Regions from separate parts of the Homo sapiens genome. Here regions 2, 3 and 4 are each linked to region 1. Evidence: promoter capture Hi-C in 16 types of primary human blood cells and fetal thymus (Javierre and others, 2016). All regions are on one chromosome and are shown on one strand. Each heading gives the region's core, a stretch centred on a gene start or on the middle of the fragment in contact. The rest is flanking DNA. Distances are from core to core; before and after follow the strand shown.

Region 1 (3,878 bases), core at 567-3,066:
GGATCCTCCCCAAGAGCCTTCAGAAAGAAAGCAGCCCTGTCTGGTACTTTGGTTCTAGCTTGGTGAGACCTGTGTGGGATTCTGACTCACAGAATCCCCCTTACAGTGGGAACTGTAAGAGTAACAGACCTGTGCTGTTTTAAACCACTAAGCTTGTGGTAATTGTTACAGCAGCAATAAGGAACTAATACACTTCCCCTGGAATCTCTCAAGTGAAAGGAGATATGGCATAAATGGAAGGTAAACTTGGAAGTGCTTTAGAAACAAGTTACTAAACGAACAAAAATGAATTCTAAATTTGAAACCCTGAGAAGAGAAAGTAATCACGCAATGTTAGTTTTTTGTTTGATATTTCCCCATTGTTAATATATTCTTGACAACAGATAGAGTACATATAGGATACATGTATATAGCATCTTTTTTTTTTTTTTTTTGGGACGGAGTCGTGCTCTGTTGCCCAGGCTGGAGTGCAGTGGCACAATCTCGGCTCACTGCAATCTCCTTCTCCTGGGTTCAAGACATTCTCCTGTCTCAGCCTCCCGAATAGCTGGGACTACAGGCGCTCGCCACCATGCCCAGTTAATTTTTGTATTTTTAGTAGAGACAAGGTTTCACCATACTGGTCAGGTTGGTCTCCATCTCCTGACCTCAGGTGATCCAGCTGCCACAGCCTCCCAAAGTGCTGGGATTACAGGCATGAGCCACCGCACCGTGCCACATATAGCATCTAGTTTAAACTGTTTAAGTTATTCCTACACCATATTCACTACTAGACCCTCCGGAAGAAAATCTCACCTTTTAATAGGGCACAACATCAAGGTCTGCATACTCGTGTTTTAAAGAAGGAATACAGGAGATCCACATAATTAAGTATTTGAATATTTAAAATGCTAAAAAGAGGCACTTTTACTACAAAGGGGAAAAAGTTCCCACCCAGGCATTGCTAAAGAGTTAAAAGAACATGACTTCAATTACATTTCTTCAATTTTTCTCAAAGTAGGAACGGCAAATAGAGGGGTTTGGAAAAGGTACTGGTGGGATTAGGCGAGATTCAGGTGAAAGAAAATACTTTCTCTTGGCCGGGCCCGGTGGCTCACGTCTGTAATCCCAGCACTTTGGGAGGCCGAGGCGGGGGGATCACGAGGTCAGGAGTTCGAGACCAGCCTGACCAACATGGTGAAACCCCATCTCTACTAAAAATACAAAAAAATTAGCCGGGCGTGGTGGCGCGCGCCTGTAATCCCAGCTACTCGGGGGGCTGAGGCAGGAGAATAGCTTGAACCCGGGAGGCGGAGGTTGCAGTGAGCCGAGATCGCGCCACTTCACTCCAGCCTGGGCGACAGAGCGAGACTCCGTCTCAAAAAAAAAAAAAATTATTTCTCTTGCCCTGCCCCCCACTCTGCATAGCAATGATTGCCATATTAGGGGTCGTTTTCACCAACTTTGGCTTTAAAATATCTTTCCTCTAATACTAGGGGGTAAAAAGCAGTATGACAAATCCCTTTATACACATACACAGAAATTCCCCCAAGAATCTAATTGCTGTACTTCAAAATACCGTCATCTAAACACAGAGAAGCGCCGGGCTGCCCGGCTCCAGAACGACTCGGGAAGCCAGGACCCACCCGCGGCCCAGCTCGGGCCGGTACCCACCCAGCACCGCGGGGCTGCTGCTCAGGACGCATTCCTGCCCCAGGCCGCGGATCAGTTGATGACCGGCCAGGGCAGCACCGCAGCGGTCCGCAGCGGACAAGGTCTCCTGCAGCCGCAGCAGGGAGCAACGCACACCGGCTCCGGAGCCCGCCATGCCGCCGAGTCCCGCTCCCGCGCGTGCGCCCGCTCGGCCCGGACCCGGAAATGCCCCTACGCGCGGAGGCGGGGCTGCGGGGCGCGGCGGCAGGAACTTTCCCGGGGACCCCTGCGGGAAGGCCTGGCCAGTAAGCGCGCCTCTTTGGCCCGAATCAACATGGAAACCTAAGGAAAAACGTCTGACCTGCGGAGGTAGTTTGGGTGGCTACTTGGTGTTGGACTTGGCTAAATAAATACCAGAGGCAGATAAAACAAGCGAGGGGCCTAGGTCAAGAGTTCCAAGTTTGTTCCTCGATAAAAAACGACAAACGCGGTCGGGGGCGGTGATGCCCGCCTGCAGTCCCAACACTTTAGGAAGCTGAGGCGGGGGGATCGCAGGAGTTCGAGACCAGTCTGGGCAACATAATGAGACCATCCCCACCACCTCCCGTCCTTAATTTTTTTTAATAAAAAAAATCTTTAAGTGAGAAATGCATCTGTAATGTCCTTATTAACCAAAAACGCCTAAGGGATAAAGAAGCACACGCTCCCTAGCCAACGCTAGAGGAACACACCCCGAGAGCTGGTGCTGTAGGACCCAGTTTTCCCGCGAAAACGCTGCCGCGCAGGGGGTCAGACCATCTGGACCAAGGGGGGCCGAGCGAGGCCTACTTCTGGTTTACGCACGGGCGCTGAAAGAAGCGGCACTGTCCCCCCCTGCCGATGCGCAGTGGCGCCTCCCGGAGGCGGAGCCACGTACGAGCGCCGCTGTGATTGGTGAGGCCCCGCCAGGGGCGGAGACGACCTTGCCGCCGGCGGGAACTCTGGGTCTCGCGGTTTGGGAGCGCTACTCGCCAGGTGGACTCGGAGTCCGCGAGCGTCGTCGGCAAGCGGCCGCCTTTCCACGGTAACCGCGCGCCGGCGGGGAGGGCGTGGCGCGGAGCCGACGGGAACGTCCGCGCTGCGGAGCAGGGCAGGGAAGCCGGGAGGCGGGCCCGGCCCGAGCTTGTCCTTGTCGCGCAGGTACTCCGAGCACTATGTCGTCCCCGGCGTCGACCCCGAGCCGCCGCGGCAGCCGGCGTGGAAGGGCCACCCCCGCCCAGACGCGTGAGTCCCCCGAGCCGGGCCCACTACAGCCCCCGGCGCCGCCCCGTCTGCCCTCTCGCCGCAGCTGGCAGCGCTGGGTGGGTGCGCGGGACCCGGGCGCTCAGCCTCGGGCTGGGCGCTGCCGCTTGGTGCGCACAGACACCCACAGCAGGCTGTGGCCTGGGTGCTGCTTAATTCGATTGCCATTTGCCTCTGTTTGGTTTGGTTCAGTGGTGAGTCATAATGCCCCAAGGAAAAGACAAATCCAGGAAGGCCGGCCCTGAAAGTTAATGGCTGTCTTTTCTGTTTTGTGTGACACAAGCTCGGAGTGAGGATGCCAGGTCATCTCCCTCTCAGAGACGTAGAGGCGAGGATTCCACCTCCACGGGGGAGTTGCAGCCGATGCCAACCTCGCCTGGAGTGGACCTGCAGAGCCCTGCTGCGCAGGACGTGCTGTTTTCCAGCCCTCCCCAAATGCATTCTTCAGGTGCGTGTCTGAAGATCTTGGTTTTGCTGTGCTTGATACACAGCTGATGCTTTATCTGCTCAGGTTTACTGGCTTTATAACAGTTGGCATAACGCCTAAAGCATCCCCTCTGCACGTGACTGAGCATGTTCTTAACCAGAGGAGCTGAACGGAGTGCAGAAAATAGTAGTTTTAGGGCTTAGTGAGCAGAGGAAGCAGCTTCTCTGGTGCTTTTTTTTAATAGAACATTTAAGAGTGCTCAGAATCTCAGCCACCGCAGGTTGCAATAAATATTCAGTTTGCTGTTGCGATTAGATGGTATAGATCAACAGACAACATGCTGTAATTTCAGGTTTGATATGCCACCAGAATTTCCTAATTTTGTTTTTATAGCTATCCCTCTTGACTTTGATGTTAGTTCACCACTGACATACGGCACTCCCAGCTCTCGGGTAGAGGGAACCCCAAGAAGTGGTGTTAGGGGCACACCTGTGAGACAGAGGCCTGACCTGGGCTCTGCACAGAAGGGCCTGCAAGT
Region 2 (3,878 bases), core at 764-3,263, 8.3 Mb after region 1:
TTGTATTGTTCAATGAAAATCATAAAATTATTATTCAGTGATTACTTAATGGACACCAGAATAACCAAACCCTTTTCCATTCTTTTTTTTGCAAAGGCTGGTCTCCTTTGGCCTGGACGTCCTGATCTTTCCCATAGTAGAACTGGGCTGGGTGTCTCTTTTTTTTTTTTTTGAGACGGCGTCTTCCACTGCTGTCGCTTGGGCTGGAGTGCAGTGGCGCGATCTCGGCTCACTGCAACCTCTGCTTCCCAAGTTCAGGCGATTCTCTTGCCTCAGCCTCCTGAGTAGTTGGGATTACAGGCGCGTGCCACCACGCTCAGCTAATTTTTGTATTTTTAGTAGACAGGGGGTTTCACCATGTTGGCCAGGCTGGTCTTGAACTCCTGACCTCGTGATCCGCCCGACTCGGCCTCCTAAACTTTTGCAAAGCTGTATCTCTAGGAATTGAATTGGAAGATTACTGAAGCACAGTAGCATTCCCTGACTTCCTGCAACGCAGGGAAATAGTTAAAAAGAAGATGCCACTGGAAGTAAAATTTCAACTCTTTTGTTTTTGAAACAGTATAGCTTTTCATAATGTCAACTAAGCAATAACTTGGCTTTTTGGTGTGTTGGCTACCCTACTATTGGCCATAAAATAGGCACTCTGGTACTTCAGTTGATGAATGTTTTTGCTAAAGTTGGACTGTACCGAATTTCATTCTTATTTTGTACGCTAATTGGTGTAAAATAAGGAAGTAATTGTTGGAATGCATACTGTATTCTTAGGTTTTATTAGTACATTTGGTTGCTTAAACTTAAGAATAAGAGTAAACAACAACTGAATTATAATTGAACTATCTTTCTTTTTCGTTTTTTTGAGACAGGGTCTCTCTCTGTCACCCAGGCTGGAGTGCACTGGTGCAATCACAGCTCTCTGCAGCCTTGACTTCCTGGGCTATCCCACCTTACTTAGCCTTCCAAGTAGCTGGGACCACAGGCACACGGCACGACACCAGGCTAATTTTTGTATTTTTGGTAGAAATGGGGTTTCTCTGTGTCGCCTAGGTTGATCTCGAACTGCTGAGCTTAAGCAGCCCTCTCGCTCCAGCCTCCCAAAGTGCTGGGATTACAGGCGTGAGACACCGCACCCAGCCAGTAGATGCATTTCAATCCAATATATGGCCTTTGTGTTGAGGCATGGCAATACAAAGGAAAAACACGTTCAAGTTTTTATTCACAAAGTACAGAGAATACATGAAGTTCCTCACTAAGTGATCATTATGCCAAAATCAAAATTTCAGGTACTTTTAGTGCTATTGAGATGTATTGATTTATTTTCTGTCAACTACTGTATAATTATTTTTTTTCTGTCTACCCTCAGTAAGAAGACTGTTAGAATGCCCTCGGTAACACAGAGGCTGAGAGATCCTGACATAAATCCTTGTTTGTCGGTAGGATGGTTTGCTTTAATTTTCATGAGTGTTAAGTTGGAAAAACAGGCTGCTCTAGTTTTGTGGGCCTTTGTTTTCTGCAGTTGTTGAATAAAGTTATTTCTCTAGAAAAAATATTGTTGGCCAGCATATCCTATTTAACTAGAGCATTTTTAGATGTTTATAATTTCTCTAACAAACATTCATCTTTTCTTTAGTTTTCCTTATTTGTATAATATGCAAGCATTTGGTTGTCACTGTAAAACTAGACAGGAAAATGTAACACTGAGAATATTTAGTCCAAACATGGAAAACTGGAAGGTATGATATTTTTAAACTGTCACTGACATTTATTGTTTCACTAGCAATAATATCACCATGTCCTTGACAACCTGGCTGAGAGTAATGGGCTGATAATATAATTAGCCTATTTAAAGCTTAAAGGTTTTCACAAAGGTATCTGATAAACAAAATGTTTTAAGAGTAAGCTTTTATTGGCATTTATTTGGTATGATTTGCGATACTTACTTGTGGCTTTGCTACGTTTGAATAATGTAGTTATCATACTGGTCCCATGAAAATTATACTCTTTAGTTATATGCATTTTCCAAATATATACATTCATTAAATATTTGGCACAGAAATTCAGCTTTGTTCTGTTTACGTAGAACATGTTTCTTAGATATGTGTTGCAAACTGTCTACCCATATAGCTAAAGCTTTCCTTTAGATCTGTGTTCCCCAACCTTTTGGGCACCAAGGACCGGTTTTGTGGAAGACAATTTTTCCACGGATGGGGAAGGGGGCGGGCGTCAAAAGGCATTAGATTCTCCTAAGGAGCTTGCAGCCTAGATCCCTCACATGCACGCAGTTCACAATAGGGTTCGTGATATTAGATCCCACAATAGGGATCTAATAGCATTAGATGAGAATCTAATGCTGCCACTGATGTGACAGGAAGGGGAGCTCAGGCGGTAAGGCTCACTTGCCCATTGCTCATCTCCTGCTATCTGGCCGGGTTCCTAACAGACCGAAGACCAGTACCACTTTGTGGCCTGGGGGTTGGGGACCCCTGCTTTAGGTGACCTCACAGAATCATACCTTTCACTTTTAAGTTTGTTATTCAATCTACTTCCAGTTCACACAGCTTAAATTTAATCCCCATGTGGCACCTACTTTCCTTTGAATTTATAGCTTGTGTTGTTGACTTCGGTTTTGAAGTAATATCTATTAAAATTGCTTATATAATAGTGTATTTGTATAATGGAGTAAATGGTAGCCAAAAATGCATTGAGATGAATGGTGTTAATTTAGGTTGTCTTGTTGTAGACCAGTTATTAGTGATTTACTTGGAATCTTGAAACCAATATTATGATCAAACATTGAAGCCAAAGTGAAAATCTGGAAAAACAGGAGAGATGTACTGTGAGTCAGGAGATGGATTCTGATTCTAGTTGTGCAGTAGTCATTTAACACATTGCACCTTGCCTCAGTTTCTTACTAAAATGGTTACTGGATTAATTGATCACAGTTATTTGGCTCAAATTCCTGTGATCACATATTCAGAAAACTGGCCCACATTATAAAAAGGAAGATGTTAGCCTGAGCAGAGTGCATACTGGGATAGCTGGCGAGATTGTCCAGTTTTTATTAGTCTACCCATCAAAATGAACACAAATGAACTATTTCACATTATTTGCTTCTGGGGAAGCAGCTTTTGTTTGTTTGTTTGTTTGCTTTTAGATCCTGTTCTACCTTTTAAATGATGCCTCTCTTATATCTGTAAGGAATCTGATGCTTCCACCAGATGTCTGGATGAAAATAACTATGACAGGGAAAGGTGTTCCACTTACTTCTTGAGGTACAAAAACTGCCGGAGATTCTGGGTAAGCCTAGATTGGTTAGCTTTGTGTTAAAACCCATCTCCTAGGGTTGAAACTGAAGCCTAAAATTAGTCAGTACCCACAATCCTTTCCCACTGATGGCTGTAGGGAAACTTAACTTTTCAACTTTATCCTCTGTGTGCTACTTTAGCCGTGAAAGATCCTTGAGAGCTCTTGTTAGCTGCCTCGTCGTCCTCTAAGCTATAAGAATGCAGTTTTAATATAGGTGGGTCTTCTTAGACATTTAAGTATCTGCAGCCCTAAAACAATGTCTTTGTTATAAATTTAGTTTTCCTGGAGATGAACAGAATGTTTAACTTCCCTTGTCATAACACATCATGTTAGGCTTCAATTTCTGCCTTTTTCTCTCTCACTGCCATCCGTGGAAGTTAAAATGGTCCATTTTTCTGAAAACATTGGTATATAATTTCTGTTTCCTTGAACCACGGGATCCAGCTATTTCCTTTCGCTTTGCTAAATGCACTGTTGGTTTTATTTCACGATTATTCAGTAGCTCTTCTTGACAGACTGTATATACTTTTGTACTTTGTACTTTGTATATTCTCATCCCAATTGCTGTTAAT
Region 3 (3,878 bases), core at 848-3,347, 7.8 Mb after region 1:
GCTAATTTTTTGTATTTTCAGTAGAGACAGGGTTTCACCATGTTAGCCAGGATGGTCTCGATCTCCTGAACTTGTGATCCGCCCGCCTCGGCCTCCCAAAGTGCTGGGATTACAGGCATGAGCCACCGTGCCCGGCCTCTATGCACGCTTTTATCTAAGTGAGATGGAGAAGGCATCAGAGGGCACTGAGCAGAAGGGTGAGGTTGCCTGGCTTGGGTTTTAAGTGGCTGCTGTGTTGAGAATATACTACACAGGCAGCAAATAGGAATATTTGCAATAAGTGATGAAAGTGGCTTACATACATGTGGCAGAGGGAAGGCAGTAGGAAATGGTCAGTTTCTGGATATATTTTGAAGATAATGCCAACAGGATTTGCTAATAAATTGACGTAGAATCTGAGATAATTATATGGTGTTTTGGCAACCTGAGTTTGTATCCTGGGAGGCTCTGCCACTTACCATGTGACCTAGCAAGTACTTAAATATCTTTCTGCCTCAGTTTCTTCATTTGTAAAATAAAAATAGCATCTACCTAATAAGACTATCGTGAAGATTACGTGTAAAAAAACCTAGCAAGTACTTAAATATCTTTCTGCCTCAGTTTCTTCATTTGTAAAATAAAAATAGCATCTACCTAATAAGACTATCGTGAAGATTACGTGTAAAAAAACTCTTAGAAGAGTGCTTTCTACCATATAAGCATTAACTATTGCTATCATCATTATTATTCACTTATAAGCATTAACTATTGCTTATAAGCATCTAAGCATAGTTAATGCTTATCACATATAAGCATTAACTATTGCTATCATCATTATTATTCGCTTGCTTGTGAAAAAATAAGAGTTGCAGGAAGAACAGGTTTGAGGGTGGGATGGAGATCAGGAATTCCATTTTAAACATGTTAAGTTTAAGATGTCTATTGGACATCCAAGTGAAGACATTAAGTAGGCAGCCGGACATCAGCAGTTTAGCAGGAAGATCAGGAGGAGGATACAGGGTATAAGTGGATGGCCCTGATATAAATCTAGGAATTGGTAGCATATAGACAATATTTAAAACCATGGAACTAGAGAAGATCCCTCCAGGGAACGAATATAGAGTAAAAAAGAATTTCTGGCCAGGCACAGTGGCTCACACCTGTAAACCCAGCACTTTGGGAGGCCGAGGCGGGAGGATCACCTGAGGTTAGGAGTTCGAGACCAGCCTGACCAACATGGAGAAACCCCGTCTCTACCAAAAATACAAAATTAGCCGGGCGTGGTGTCGCACGCCTATAGTCCCAACTACTTGGGAGGCTGAGGCAGGAGAATCGCTTGGACCTGGGAGGCGGAGGTGCAGTGAGCCGAGATCATGCCACTGCACTCCAGCCTGGGCAACAACAGCGAAACTCAGTCTCAAAAAAAAAAAAGAATTTCCAGGACTGAGTCTTGAGGCACCCAACATTTTAGAAGTTGGGAAGACAATGGCAAGCCAGCCTCCTCCTTGCAGAAGCAGTATCCTGGAAGTAAGAGCTTCAAGAAGGAAGGCATATTCTGCTGTTTTAAATGCTGTTGACAGGCCTAGTAAGGTAAGAGATCACTTCCTTCCTGTAGGAGACAGCTTTAAAAAAAAAAAAAAAATGATAATTGATCACTGGATTTTACAACACAAAGGAAACTGGCAAACCCTGGTAAGAGCTGTTTTTGTATAGTAGGAAACAAAACACTTTGGACAGGAGAGGACAGAAGCAGCTCCCCTTTACCCTTGAAGTTCAAGAATGAATGGGAGAAAATGAATTGGAAACAGCAAATATAAAAACTCACAAAGGAGGAAAGAAACAGGTGGGTATCTAGAAGGGAACACAGGTGAGTTGTTCCTTGCTGCTGCTGCTGCAGCTGTTGCTTTAAGACAGAGGCCAGGCATGGTAACTCACACCTGTAATCTCAGCACTTTGGGAGACTGAGGCAAGAGGATCGCTTGAAACCAGAAGTTCAAGACCAGCCAGGCAATATAGTAAAAACTCATCTCTAAAAAAAAAATTTAGGCCAGGTGCGGTGGCTCACACCTGTAATCCCAACACTTTGGGAGGCCAAGTAGGGGCAGATCACTTGAGGCCAGGAGTTCAAGACCAGCCTGGGCAACACAGTGAAACCCCATCTCTACTAAAAATGCAAAAATTAGCCAGGTGTGGTGATGCATTCCTGTAATCTCAGCTACTCGGGAGGCTGATGCACAAGAATGGCTTGAACCCAGGAGGTGGAGAGTGCAGTGAGCCGAGATCATGCCACTGCACTCCAGCCTGGACAACAGAGTGAGACTCTGCTCAAAAAGAAAAAAAAATTAAAAATTAGCCGGGCATGGTGACATGTACCAATGATCCCAGCCACTTGGGAGGCTGAAGGGGGAGGATCACTTGAGCCTGGGAGGTAGAAGCTGCAGTGAGTAATGATCAAGCCACTGCACTCCAGCCTCAGTGAAAGAGCAAGAGACTCTGTCTTTAAAAAAAAAAAAAAAAAAAAAAAGGGCCAGGCACAGTGGTTCATGCCTGTAATCCCAGCACTTTGGGAGGCCAAGGCGGGTGGATCACTTCAGGTCAGGAGTTTGAGACCAGCCTGGCCAACATGGTAATGCCGTCTCTACTAAAAACACAAAAATTAGCCAGGCATCATGGTGCATACCTGTAGTCTCAGCTACTTGGGAGGCTGAGGCACTAGAATTGCTTGAACCCGGGAGGCAGAGGTTATATAAGCCGAGATTCTGACAGTGCACTCCAGCCTCAGGGACAGAATGAGAATCCCATCTCAAAAAAAAAAAAAAAAAAAGATAGGAGAAAATACACCCATGTTCAATGTCAACGATAATTCATCAATGGGAGTGAGAAACAGATGATGTAGGAGAGGAGATAATTGTTAGAGCTCTGTCCTTGACTAGGCCAAAGGGGACAGGATACAATGTACAAGTGGATGGCCCTGAGAAGTTTGTGCCAGATACTATTCTAAATATATCAGTAAATAAAATAGTTATCTAAGAAAACATACGAAAAACACTTACTTTCTGGCACATAGTAGGCACCTAACAAATGCTGGCTAAATATACAACTGAACTGTGTTCGTCTAAAACTTTTTTTTTTTGAGACAGAGTCTCACTCTGTCACCCAGGCTGGACTGCAGTGGCTCGATTTCAGCTCACTGCAACCTCCACCTCCCAGGCTCAAGCAGTTCTCATACCTCAGCCTCCCGTGTAGCTGGGACTACAGGCAAGCACCACTGCACCCAGCTAATTTTTGTATTTTTAGTAGAGATGGGGTTTTGCCATGTTGGCCAGGCTTGTCTGGAACTCCTGGCCTCAAGTGATCCGCCCGCCTCCACCTTCCAAAGTGCTCGGATTGCAGGCGTGAGCCACCCTGCTTGGCCTCATCTAAATCTTTAACAGAAATCTGGATCAAAACAGTATCCTAAAACCTGCTACTAGAGAACTATCAGAGGAATTTGAATAAAATGCCTTTCAGTAGATAAAATGTAGCACTTACTTTTGATAATATGACAAAGTGTCTTTAAATCTCAATGCAACCCCTTAATTGTGCAGATAACAAAAAAAGTAAACACAGAAAGCCAAGTTTGCTTGCTTAAAATTACTAAATTAATTCAGTAAAAGCCAAGAACTAAAATTAAAATCTAGTCATCTTACCTCCTGGTCTGGCTTCCAACACACTTTCTTTGATATATCTCTCTTTTTCTCTCTTGACAGAAAGAAAATATTAAGATTGCAATTTCTGTCTTCCCTATACTTCTGCCTGGCCCTTCCCCTTCCCCCTGAATTTACCTGGGGGTGTAACTGACTTCTTATCACTTTATTTTAATCCAAGAAAAATGACATGGGCCAGGGTGGCTCACGCCT
Region 4 (3,878 bases), core at 915-3,414, 5.9 Mb after region 1:
GAGCCTCAGAGAAGTTAAGTGATTTGCTTAAGATCACCAAACTAATAGCAAGAACCAAAACTCAAATCCAAGTCTCTCAACTCAAATATCTGTGCTTCTTATTAGTTGTATGCACCACTCTAAAAAGGCCACCTGCCCCCATGCTGATTGCCAGGGCATATCAGACCAGTCTAGCAGGTTTTGCCCCTCATCCCCTTCCTCCCTCCGTTAGCCCAAGGACATTCCTCCTATGTTTCCCACTTATTCCAAAAGTACTTCCCCAGGCAGCCAGAGAAGGTCAAAAGCACCATAAGCCGCTCTGCTTCCCCACTAGGGCGCCAAGCTGTTTCCACCCCACTACACTTAACTCCCTAAGACAGCTAATTATTCTGAAGAGGAAGTGTTTCTTCCACATTTTTCAGTATTTTCCCTGTATTTCTCTCATAGAAGCATGACCATGAAAAAGTCTGATGCAAAAGCATATGACTGTCCATGATTCACAGCAAATTGGTACTTACTGAAGATAGGATTGCCAGTTGACTTTGTTTGCACGAACTTCTGCAGCCTTGGCAGCAATAATATTGGTGGGGACAGCAGCATCCACAGCACCTCGGATATCCATTTTGGTCATCTAAACTTCGTAATCTTGAATGTCTTTCAACAAATCTTCAATTTTGATGCAAGGTAAAAACAGAATACGAGGTGTTTCTTTTTTTTACAACTATTAATATTATGATTATGAATATCGTGATCACTTTAATCTCCCCAGGCATTCAACTCAAATATTAAATGTCCTAAGTCTGAAAGTATCATTATATTTCAAATATTGTCCACTGCTCCATAAAAGAGTTCTTTAGGCTTTTGCTTTTCTAGAAAAATTTTTTTCATTATTGGCACTAACACTGCAGTAAGATTTTTAAAGCAATCACCTAATATACTGAAATCAGAAATCATGATTAAATAGAATAGGTATAAATATGGGAAAAATTGTAAATTTATACAATTGTGGTTAACTTTTCTCATAGAGAAACAATAAGAATATGAATAGTACGGATAAGGCTAGTTTTATAAACATTTACTAAGCATCATTTTGAAGTGGCACATTAAAAATTCTAAGTCCTTTCGAAAATTACTCAAATTAAAATACACAAAGTGGGAACATAATTTCTTAGAAGACAGTGCTTTCCTTTTCAAACAAAATTCATAGTATTTGCAAAATCAAAATTCGGAGAGAAAGTTTTAGAACAAATACATATTACAATTTAGGTAAGCCAACAATGGCGGTCTGGCTGGACGACAAGAACCTACAATAATGAAATTCTATGTAATTCTCACTCCTAAACTTCCAGATACAAACGACTGATTTTAACACAAAGCAAAATACAGGTTGCCACTTGCAAAACATAAATTCACGGCCATGGCCACAAAGAAGTTAAAATCCTACCCAAAATTATATTCCGGGTTTCCAACGATCTTAATCAATTTGGAACTTAATCTCTGTATCTGAAGATTTGCTGTATAAACAACCCTGGGCAGCGCGAACGACAGGGCCCAGGAAAAAACAGGCTTCAACTGGGCCAGGCTGGAACTCTGCAGCCAAGGAGGCTCAGCCTCAGCGGCCCGTCCTGGCGTAGCTCAAGGTGTCTCTAGACAATTACCTAAGTCCCTGAACTACTCGCACCCCCAGCGATCCAGGGCCGTGGCCCAGTCCTGGAGAAGGTATACTTTTTACCCCTCCCCCTCCACTCTCCTGCCCGCCCCTGACGTTTCTTCCCCCTGCGAGAAAGGCTCCAGAATTTCGCTTAATAAACCTGGTTGAGGCCTGGAAGAAAAGCAATCTGGCAACCGGGGGCCGAAGAACAGGAGAGGACCAAGCGGCGAGACACCAGCACGCACCAGGCAAGCTGGAGAAACTGCAAGAGTCGCCTGACCTGGTCTGCAGCCTGAGACCAAACAACGCGAGGGCGGCCTTACCTCGCGAATCCTCGGGACCCCACAACGCACCCAAAGCCGGCAGGGAGGGTGGTCCGGGGCGCCGGGGACACAGCCGGGCTGGGGCGCCGCGTCAGAGCCAAGTAGGCGTCTCCTGTCAGGTCCAGAGGTCTGAGCAGTGGAGGGAGACTCCGGGAGCCGAAAGTGAAGCGGGTCCCGCACCAAGGAGACGTTGAGGGCCGCACAGGTAGAAGGAAGCCAGGGCGGCCGCAGTAGAATGACAGAGGCGCCGGTCACGTGATCGGAGGCACGTGACTGCTGCGGAAGGCGGAAGCCGGGAGACTCCAAAGCAGCAAGAGGAGGGGCGGGCGCTGCGGCGGGGCTTGTTCGGTGCGGACAACTGGATTCCCGAGTCCGTAACTTGGGCCCCGGAGCGACGCAAGGGTCGGGCCCCAGCCAGCCAGGGCAGGTGGGAGGCGGCGAGCGTGGCGGGCACGCTAAGACCCGCCGCCCCCAGACCTAGTGCCTCGCCTAGGGGAGGCCGAGGACCTCCGCCCGGAAGCAGCTAGCAGAGGCCAAAACGCTCTTATTGTAACCGTCATTCTTTTGAAAAGTTTGATTTCGCGCTTTCAAATTAATTTCCATTTGGATTTAACAGCTCCATGAAGCAGGCGTTCTTATTCTGATTTTAAATAGAAAACTCGGGCTGAGAAGTGGGTCTGAAAAGCTCTCTTAACCTAGGGTTGCACATTTAGCAAATAATAAATTCCATTGCAGTATTTACTTTTATACTAAAAAGTTATTCGTTGTTTATCTAAAATTCACATTTACAGGACGTCTGGTATTTTATCCAACAGTCCCATCTGGAGCCCAAATTTTCCCCTAGTCCAGGCCTCAGCAACTGTCTTTGCCTTAAAGTAAGAATGTACTGCCCTGGAGGTGAAGTATATATGATAGCATGTTTTCCTTAAAAAGCAATGAAAGGGGCCGGGCGCGGTGGCTCACTCCTGTAATCCCAGCACTTTGGGAGGCCGAGGCCAGTGGATCACCTGAGGTCTGGAGTTCGAGACCAGCTGACCAACATGGTGAAACCCCATCTCTACTAAAAATACAAAAAATTAGCTGGGTGTGGTGGCGCATGCCTGTAATCCCAGCTGCTTGGGAGGCTGAGGTAGGAAAATCACTTGAACCCAGGAGGCAGAGGTTGCAGTGAGCCAAGACCGCACCATTGTACTCCAGCCTGGGCAGAAAAAGCAAAACTCCGTCTCAAAAAGAAAAAAAAAAAATTCTTTGAAAGGGATTTATAACCAACCCATTTTTACTCGTAAAATTAAAGTCAGAATAATCAAAATCATGCATTGATTATGAATAAAGATATATAATAACAGTGTCAAAGATTGTACTAGGTCACTCATTCTGTCTTAGCCAGAAGTGAAAGTCTGTTGTTTTGAAAGCAAATCTAAGGGGAAAAACTTTCATAAAAGAGAAAAAGAAACCGATCGTGTACTAAGAAACTCCCAAAAGCTGAAACAGCATGTTTTCTGTGTAACTGAGCAAAGCTGGCAGTGAGGCCTGATCTTCGCATTTCCTTTCTGTATCACCTAAGCCACAGACTGGCGTGATACAGCGAGTCTCATCAGATTTCGGGAGGCTCTCCTCTTTTCCTAGAGGCACAAAGTTATGGAACAAAATCAGGAACAGTGCAGTGAGCAGAGGGGACTGCTTCACAGGCACCTGGGCTGGCGTTCTCCGAGCATCACAACATTACCAGACAATTTGCCTGGAGTAGGGAGAAGAGAAGAGGCAGGTACTCCCGGCATTATCTCTCTTAACATTATTTCTGTAACACTTCTATCGGAGATTTTTCTTGGTCCATTCAGGCTCCTGTAACAGTGCTGTAGACTGGGTGGCTTATAAACAACAGAAAGTCATTTTCTCACAGTTCTGGAGGTTGAAAGTTCAGAATT

What was found. The method cuts DNA at HindIII sites, captures the fragments that hold promoters and counts their contacts. A CHiCAGO score of 5 or more calls a contact.
Region 2: a fragment that was not itself captured here is called in contact with the fragment with the promoter of PRKDC in region 1 in 1 of 17 cell types (naive CD8 T cells); the score reaches 5.3 in naive CD8 T cells.
Region 3: a contact is called between a fragment that was not itself captured here and the fragment with the promoter of PRKDC in region 1, in 1 of 17 cell types (non-activated CD4 T cells). The highest score is 6.0, in non-activated CD4 T cells.
Region 4: the fragment with the promoter of ATP6V1H here is called in contact with the fragment with the promoter of PRKDC in region 1 in 4 of 17 cell types (naive CD8 T cells, total CD8 T cells, activated CD4 T cells and 1 more); the score reaches 6.0 in naive CD8 T cells.

Annotation. Positions count from the first base shown.
Region 1 is chr8:47,958,320-47,962,197 of GRCh38, forward strand. It overlaps PRKDC (protein kinase, DNA-activated, catalytic subunit), which reads right to left and starts at 1,817. Exons shown (of 86, transcript NM_006904.7): 1 at 1,654-1,817. The coding sequence starts at 1,807. It overlaps MCM4 (minichromosome maintenance complex component 4), which reads left to right and starts at 2,622. Exons shown (of 17, transcript NM_182746.3): 1 at 2,622-2,695; 2 at 2,812-2,895; 3 at 3,197-3,361; 4 at 3,734-3,878. The coding sequence starts at 2,826. RefSeq lists an enhancer at 1,286-1,445 and silencers at 1,626-1,675, 1,686-1,985, 2,656-3,055. The HindIII fragment of the contact is 8,899 bases long and covers 151-3,878 here.
Region 2 is chr8:56,213,235-56,217,112 of GRCh38, forward strand. It overlaps CHCHD7 (coiled-coil-helix-coiled-coil-helix domain containing 7), which reads left to right. Exons shown (of 4, transcript NM_001011671.3): 2 at 1,364-1,433; 3 at 3,199-3,297. The coding sequence starts at 1,380. Among named protein-coding and RNA genes, the nearest start is that of CHCHD7, 3.4 kb to the left of the region's middle. RefSeq lists an enhancer at 304-803. The HindIII fragment of the contact is 230 bases long and covers 1,899-2,128 here.
Region 3 is chr8:55,766,539-55,770,416 of GRCh38, forward strand. All of the region lies in intron 1 of TMEM68 (transmembrane protein 68), which reads right to left. Among named protein-coding and RNA genes, the nearest start is that of TMEM68, 4.9 kb to the right of the region's middle. The HindIII fragment of the contact is 6,579 bases long and covers 1-3,878 here.
Region 4 is chr8:53,841,081-53,844,958 of GRCh38, forward strand. ATP6V1H (ATPase H+ transporting V1 subunit H) reads right to left here and starts at 2,165. Exons shown (of 14, transcript NM_015941.4): 1 at 1,954-2,165; 2 at 498-645. The coding sequence starts at 610. RefSeq lists enhancers at 2,114-2,253, 3,551-3,600 and a silencer at 2,324-2,473. The HindIII fragment of the contact is 7,596 bases long and covers 1-3,878 here.